Linked DNA regions of Homo sapiens: region 2 is linked to region 1. The links are contacts of gene promoters, found by promoter capture Hi-C in blood cells and fetal thymus (Javierre and others, 2016). All regions are on one chromosome and are shown on one strand. Each heading gives the region's core, a stretch centred on a gene start or on the middle of the fragment in contact. The rest is flanking DNA. Distances are from core to core; before and after follow the strand shown. Region 1 holds the start of LCA5L (lebercilin LCA5 like). Region 2 overlaps BRWD1 (bromodomain and WD repeat domain containing 1).

What was found. The method cuts DNA at HindIII sites, captures the fragments that hold promoters and counts their contacts. A CHiCAGO score of 5 or more calls a contact.
Region 2: a contact is called between a fragment that was not itself captured here and the fragment with the promoter of LCA5L in region 1, in 1 of 17 cell types (naive CD8 T cells). The highest score is 5.0, in naive CD8 T cells.

What each region holds. Positions count from the first base shown.
Region 1 is chr21:39,444,086-39,448,159 of GRCh38, forward strand. LCA5L (lebercilin LCA5 like) reads right to left here and starts at 1,693. Exons shown (of 11, transcript NM_152505.4): 1 at 1,640-1,693; 2 at 50-116. All of the region lies in intron 8 of GET1-SH3BGR (GET1-SH3BGR readthrough), which reads left to right. MIR6508 (microRNA 6508) reads left to right here and starts at 2,925; the gene lies at 2,925-2,984. It also overlaps a transcript of SH3BGR not described here. RefSeq lists a silencer at 1,604-1,863. The HindIII fragment of the contact is 3,319 bases long and covers 1-2,787 here.
Region 2 is chr21:39,238,341-39,242,414 of GRCh38, forward strand. It overlaps BRWD1 (bromodomain and WD repeat domain containing 1), which reads right to left. Exons shown (of 41, transcript NM_033656.4): 22 at 139-233. Among named protein-coding and RNA genes, the nearest start is that of PSMG1, 57 kb to the left of the region's middle. The HindIII fragment of the contact is 2,775 bases long and covers 994-3,768 here.

The sequences.
Region 1 (4,074 bases), core at 443-2,942:
GGGCAGGGACCTGTCACATTGATCGCGGTATCAGCACCCAGGTACTTACTATTCAAAATGATCAGCATACGGATGATCATTTGTCTGCATCTCAGTTTGCCTCTTTTGGTGCTTCTCTAAAAAATAAAAAAGGAAGAGCTTAAACTCCTACATGATTCCTGTCTTTGCGCTGGGAAGAAGGCTCTGGGTTCTTTTGTTCTTCAGGACAGTCCCTTGTAAAGCTCTTGCCATAGTTCTGTTCCAGGGGCACTGTCATATTTATACCTAACAAAGCTAAGGGGTGTCTTTACATTTTTAGCTTGTTAGCAGGATGCTTATATGGCCTTGCTGACCCGGTTTAAAAGTTGCAATTTGCAAAATACATACTGAAAATACTGCACTTTTACCTATGGAAGTTGTAATTTATATAAGGAAATTGTAATTTATATAATCCTTTAAAAAACTTACTCATACGAAATAACAGAGAACGGGGAAATACCATTAAGACTGTCATGCTCAAGTGGGGGAGGGGCAGACTCAGGGAAACCAATTAGGAAGCAAGTAAAATAATCCACGCACCAGATGATGGGGGCCTGGACCAAGGTGGTGACAGTGGCGGTTGAGAGAAATGGTAGAATTGTGAATCTATTCTGGGTGCATTTTGAAGGCAGTGCTGACAGACTGAAGGTGAGGAAGAGAAAAACAGGACTCAAACAGGATGCAAGACTCGGGCAACTGGAGGATGGAATTTCCAGCAACTATGATGGATTAAGATTGTGGGAGGACAGGCTTGGCTTGGGGAATTATTGAGCGCTATCTTGGACGAGCTGTGTTTGAGATGCCGTAGACATCCAAGTAGGGATGTGGCAGGCAGCTAAATGCAGGGATCTGGTGTTCAGGGGAGGGGCGAGGGCTGGGAATGCACACTTGGGGCTCACTGGAATTCAGATAGGCTCTGAGTACAGGCGACTGGATGAGTTCATCTAGGGATTGAGTGTAGACAGAAAAAAGGCTCAAGCTCACATTCAGCCGTGAAAACTGGTCTCTGAAAAAAGTTAACCGTTGGCTTAAGTGTGGCAACGAAACGTTAACACGCTGAGGGGAGGGTGTGGATAAAGAGCCCCGAGGCTGGGTGAGTGGGGGACAAACACAGACAGAGAAGACATTTCAAAAGATTTAGATTCCTACGAGATAGGGAGATGCCAGCGCTAAGGTTAGAAAGAAAAACTAATCCAAAGCAAAACAGCAAGTAAGCAGAGGCAAAATCGGAGGTCAGATAGAAGATTCAGATAGAAAAACCCCAAAGTTCCCTCGGTGGGGCGGCGGTGAGATCGGCCTCCGCCCCCTCGCCAGACCCAGGCGCGGCCCCGGGAGCGCTAGGTCACCTCGGCCCAGGCCGTCCCCCTGCCCAGCGGGCCTGAGAGTACGTGTGTCGCCGGGGCGCCCGGTCACTGCCGAGCCGGGGTAGCTGTTCCTTGGCAAACTGTGCCGCGAGGAGGAAACGGCGGGGCGCCAGCGAGGCAGGCAGGGGCGAGGACTGAGTGACCGGCGATACTGGAAGCCCAGAAAGAGCGTAGCAGGAGGGTCCGGAAGGGCCCAGAGCTGGGGCTGTAACAGGGTAACCGGCTGAGGGGGACGACGGCAGCAGCGGGGCCGTTACCTGCTCCGCGCTGTTCCCACGACTGCGCCAACGCCGCAGCGCCGGCGCGTCCCCATGGAAACCCGCGCGCGGGGCCTCCTGGGAAGCGCCGGCCTGCGGGGGCTGGGCGCGCGCATGCGCACTCGGGCAGCAGGAGCCGCGGCGGGGAGGGGCGTCTTGGGCCTGGAGGTCAGTGTGGCCTCGCGTTTGTCTTCGGTGACGGGAAGTGAGTTTCTTGTGTAGACGTCTGTAAACGATCCTCCTGCCGTCCCTGTTCGGCGCCCGGGACCCTGCCTTCCCGCGTGGCCGCACCGAGACGAGGGAGCCTGTCACGCGCTCTGGCGCTCTCCTGACCTCTTAAGGCTCTGTCAGTCTTAGGTAACTTGAGTCAGTAGGTGGGTGTAGACGCCTGGTCAATTCCTGGGAAGCACAGTTCCCCTATTAACCCCTTGTCATAAAGACGATTTTTTTTTTTTTTTTGTAAAACAAAATCTGATGACAAAACAATGCATGTTTGGCATAGAGAATTTAGAAATGTACAGGCAAGTCCAAAGCAAAAGTCAAAATCACCTAGATGATGGAGTTATAGATGTTTTTTAATGACAGCATAGGAATTTGGCATAATTTAGGAAGACTTACATTGTTTCCTTTTATTTATTTACTTTTTTTCCTGCATCAAAGCCATGTTGAATATCCTTGCAGATGAATCTTTGAGGTCACCCCTGACTGTTTCCTTAGGATAAATTCCTACAAGCGAGGTTGCAGGGCCAAAGCATATGCTCACTTTGAGGCTTTCTAAAGGTAGAGGGAAACTGCCTTCCAGTAAGTGTCCCGATACTTGGCCCGCATTGGAAATTCTCTTTTTTCTTAAAATTTTTTTGCCCATTTTATTGTCAAAAATTGGCATCTTTAATTGTATTCACTTCCTTTTTAGTAGGAAGAATAGACTTTTTCCCATATCTTGAGTGCCATTTGTCCTTATTGTGTGATTTGCATTTTCCTGTCTTTTGTCCATTTTAAAACTTGACATTCATCTTTGTAAAAATGGGTTTTGTAAGGACTTTTGATGCTTGAAAACTTGGCTTGTGATATACGTTGCAAATATTTCCTCAATTTGTCAGTTACCTTTAATTTTGTTTACAGTGTATTTTGGTATTTGTGTAGAGTCAAGCTTATTACATTTCTCTATAGTTTCTGCATTTGGTTTTTATATAAAAGGAGAAACGGGTGTTTTTTTTCAAATTGACTTTAATCCTACTTTGGTAGAAGTGGGTTAGGACAAGCTTTCTCTCCATATCACCATTTCTTCCTCTAGAAATGCATGACCCACCCTGAGTTTTGGTGGGCCATGCATTTCTAGAACTCCTTAGGTAGGGAATTATCCGTATAAGATGGGTGCCGGTTGTTTTTGCTGGTGGTGGTGGGCGGGGCAACATCTCCAGGTAGGCAAACATTAGACAAATGTCACTCTAGACTTGACATTATGGAAAGATGGGCTGATGCTTGGTGGGTGGTGGTGGCCCCATGACAGTAACGAGAGCGGAGTTTTGCCATTGCGGGAGCATCCAACCCTGGAGCTCATGACTGGAGGAATTGAAAGGTAGAGTTTCCTGAGAATGGTTTCCTCCTCTTTTCTACCAGCTTTTCCCAGTCTGTAGACATGATAAGTCACTGCAAATCTGCCCTTGAATCTTTCTTTGCTTTCGCTTTTGCTTTTTTTTTTTTTTTTTTTTGAGACGTATCACTCTATCGCTCAGGCTGGAATGCAGTGGCGCCATCCCAGCTCACCACAACCTCCGCTTCCTGGGTTCAGGTGATTCTCCTGCATCAGCCTCCTGAGTAGCTGGGATTACAGGTGTGAGTCACAACACCCGGCTAATTCTTTTTGTATTTTTAGTAGAGATGGGGTTTTGCGATGTTGGCTAGGCTGGCCTTGAACTCCTGACCTCAAGTGATCTGCCCGCCTCGGCCTCCCAAAATGTTGGGATTTCAGGCATAAGCCACCGTGCCTGGCCTTTGCTTTTGCTTTCGAAGGGGTGTTCTTTTCTGTGTACACAATGGAAGGAGAAGAGCCATGGCCTTTCACTATTCTGGGGCCATCTCCATCATGCCACATAAAAAGCATAGCCTTTATTTCTCTATATTAGGTTCCTAGGTTCCTAGGGATGTCATAACAGACTACCACGAACTTAGGGGCTTAGAACAATAGAACTTTATCTTCTCACATTTCTGGAGGTCAGAAGTATGAAACCAAGTTGTCTGAAAGTCCATGTTTCCTCTGAAGGCTCTTAGGGAGAATTTTTTGAGTCTTCCAGCTTATGGGGACTCCTGCTATTCCTTGGCTTGTGGCAGCACCACTCCAATTTCTGCTTCCATCTTCACAGGGTGTTCTTCTCTGTGTCTCCCTGTCTTGTCTTCTTATAAGGACAACCAGTCATTGGACTTAGGGCCCACCC
Region 2 (4,074 bases), core at 1,131-3,630, 210 kb before region 1:
TAGTTTTTGTCTCCTTTTAAGTGTATTAAAAACTGTTCCACAGTTGCAAATTCTTGCCTCTTGAATAAAATTCAAGTATGATTCCATCCAAGACTATGACTAAAATGCTTAAAAGACCACAACAATAAAAACAGATACCTTGAACTTTCGCTGTAACTCTCACTTTTTCTGTCACTTCTCCATTCATCCTCTTCTGAAGAACCAGAACCTTCACTCTGATCACAGGAAGTCTCCTAATTTGTGAAGGGGGGAAAAAAATCTTGATCCCTGAAGTTAAACAACACATGTCCAGAAAAAAGCTGTACACAATCCTCCCCAGTAAGATTAAATCATCTAAGAAAAATGAACAGTAATCAGTAAATATATAATCAGATAAACTTAAAAAGCAAACTTCTTCACTACATCCCTTTCTTATCAAAGCATAAGACAAAAAGAGAACATCCGTAAGATTTAACACTACCACCATTAGCAAAGAAAGTGATACAACAGGCCATTCTGAGTAAAGTTAATAAAAAGTCAATGTAAATGTTTTCCATTTTGGACTTTAGCTATTCTAATAGATGTATCTAATTGTTGTTCTAGTTTTCAATTCCCTGTGACATATTTTGGTAGCTTTTCATATGGTTATTTGTCATCTGTTTATCTTCTTTGGTGAGGTGTCTGTTAGATCTTCTGCCCATTTTTAAATTAGGCTGCCTTCTTATTGCTTGGTTTTAAGAGTTCTTTGTATATTGTGAATATAAGTCATTTATCAGATATAAGTTTTACTAATATTTTATCCTGGTTTGTGGCTTATCTTTTCATTCTTTTAATAGTGTCTTTCCCAAAGCAGTTTTCATTTCAGTGTAGTCCAAATTTTTTATATTTTTTCTTTCATGATTGTGCTTTTGATATTGTATCTAAAAAGGTCAATGCCACACTCATGGACACATAGATTTTGCCCTTTGTTATCTTCTAGAAGTTTTATGGTTTTTTTGTTTTACATTTACATTAAGCTTATGATTCATTTTGAGTTAATTTTTGTGAAAGACTGGTGTCTAGGATTTATTTTGTATGTGAATGTCCAGTTATTCTACCACTGGCTGAAAATGATAAATTTGTCCACCAAGTTCTCTTTGCTCCTTTGCCAAAGATCGTTTGAATATATTTGTGTCAGTCTGTTTCTGGGCTCTTTATGTTGTTCCATTGATCTGTTCTTTCACCAGCATCACTGTCTTGAAAACTGCAGATTTACAGTAAGTCTTAATGCCAAGTAGAGTGTCAGTCTTTCAGTTTTATTCTTCTTCAGTGTTGTGCTGGCTATACTGGATCTTCTTCCTCTCTATATAAACTCGAAAAATCAGTTTGTCAGTAAAATTAATTTGCTGGGATTTTGTTTGGGATTGTGAATCTACAGATGATGCTGGAAAGAATTTTTTAACAAGGGTGTGGATCAGCAGGAACTCTCATTCATTACTGATAGGAATGCAAAATGGTACAGCTACTTTGGAAGACAGTTTAGCAGTTTCTTATAAAACTAAACATAATAAGATCCAGCAATCACACTTGATGTTTACCCAAATGAGGTGAAAAATTATGTCCGCACAAAAACCTACACCCAGATGTTTATACCAACTTTATAATGGCCAAATCTTGGAAGCAACCAACACATCCTTCAGTAGGTAAACTGATAAAACTATGGTATATCCAGACAATGAAATATTATTCTGTGCTAAAAAAAACAAACAAACAAACAAAAAAATCAAGCCATGAGAAGGCATGTAGGAAATGTAAATGCATATTAATAAATGAACGAAGCCAATCTGCAAAGGCTACTAGCTATATGATTCCAATTACATGGCATTCTACAAAGATAAAACTATGAAGACAAAAAATCAGTGATTGTCAGGGGCTGTTGGGAAGAGAAAGATGAACAGATGGAGCACAGAGGATTTTTAGGGCAGTAAAATCATTCTGTGTGATATTATAATGGTGGATACATGTCATTATAAATTTGTTAAAAAATTAACTGGGCATGGTAGCACATGCCTGTAGTCCTAGCTACTCAAGAGTCAGAAGCTGGGAAATCACTTGAGCCTAGGAGTTCGAGGTTGCAGTGAGCTATGATTGCACCACTGCACTCCAGCCTGGGCCATAGGGCAAGACCCTGTCCCTAAGAAAAAGAAAAAATCAAATAAATATATCCCCAAATGACACTTCTAGCAGTACAAAAATACGTATACAAAATATTATTCACTGTAGCATTATTTATAATGTAAACATTGGAAACAACCTAACTGCCCATAACCAGGAGAACGATTCAATAAACTGTTTCAATCATGCCATAAAGTACTACATAACTCTTAAAACAAATAAGGATCATATGGAGTGATCTCAAAGATATTTTAAGTGAAAAATGTCAAGTGTGGGACTATCTGTAGTATGCTGTATTTTGTATAAGAAGGATAAATAACTTTTGAAATATTTGTACTAAATACAATTTGGTTAACGACAAAAAAAGAACAGTAAGTAAATAACTAAACTCTACATACTAGGGTTTTTACCACAGGGTAAGTAAATCTTTTTTTTTTTGTTTTTTGAGACAGAGTTTCACTCTGTCACCCAGGCTGGAGGGCAGTGGCACTGTCTCGGCTCACTGCAACCTCCACTTCGTGGGTTCAAACGATTCTCCTGTCTCAGCCTCCCAAGTAGCTGGGATTACAGGCACCCGCCACCACGCCCAGCTAATTTTTTTTTTTTTTTGTATTTTTTGTAGAGACAGCCTTCAGCCACCCAGCCTAGTAAATCTTAAACTACTTTCTGTGTATGTAGAATTAAACAAATAAGTTTATGATAAATAACAGGGCTGGGCATGGTGGCTCACGCCTGTAATCCCAGCATTTTGGGAGACCAAGTCGGGCAGATCACTTGAGGTCAGGAGTTCAAGACCAGCATGGCCAACATGGTGAAACCCTGTCTCTACCAAAAACATAAAAAAATTAGCCGGGTGTGGTGATGCATGCCTGTAATCCCTGCTACTTGGGAGGCTGAGGCAGGAGAATCGCTTGAACCCAGGAGGTGAAGGTAGCAGTGAGCCAAGACTGTGCCACTGCACTCCAGCCTGGGCAACAGAGCAAGATTCCATCTCCAAAGTAAAAAAAAAAAAAAAAAAAAAAAAAAAAAAAAAAAAAAAAAAGATTTAAAAATCTAAATAAATAACAGGAGCCAGGTTTCTCTGTACAGAAGGGAAGTACAAACGGGTATCATTAAAATCAGAATAATGTGAAGTCGTGCATAACAATGACAGATATACAGACAAAAAAATACATGTGTCTGCATATAATATGTATACACAGGCATACTTTTTATCGTGCTTTACTTTATTGTGCTTCACAGTTGTGTTTTTTACAAATTGAAGTTTTGTGACAACCCTGAACCCAGTAAATTTATTGGTGCCATTTTTAAACAGCATGAGCTCATTCTTGTCTCTATGTCACATTTTAGTAATTACCATATTTCAAACTTTTTCATTTTTATTGTATCTGTTACTGTGATTTGTGATTAATGATCTTTGATGTTACTATTCTAATTGTTTTGGGGGCACTAGGAACAATACTCATATAAGATAGCACACTTAATGAATACCATGTGTGTTCTGACTGCTCCAGTCTATTCCCTGAGATACAATATTGCAATTAGACCTACTAATAACCATACAATAGCTTCTAAGTATTCAAAAATGAAAGAGTCACACATATCTTACTTTAACTCGCAATGTAGAAATGATTAAGCTTAGTAAGGAAAGCATGGTGAAAGCCAACACAGGCTAAAAGCTAGGCCTCTTGCACCAAGTAGCCAAGTTGTGAATGCAAAGGAAAAGTTCTTCCAAGAAATATAAAATGCTATTCCAGTGAACACACAAATGGTAAGAAAGCAAAATAGCCATACGGCTAATATAGAGAAAGTTTTGGTGTCTGGATAGAGGGTCAAACCAGCAATAACATTCCCTTAAGCCAAAGCTTAACCCAGAGCAAGGCCCTAACTCTCTTTAATTCTATGAAGGCTGAGAGGTGACAAAGCTGCAGAAGAAAAGAT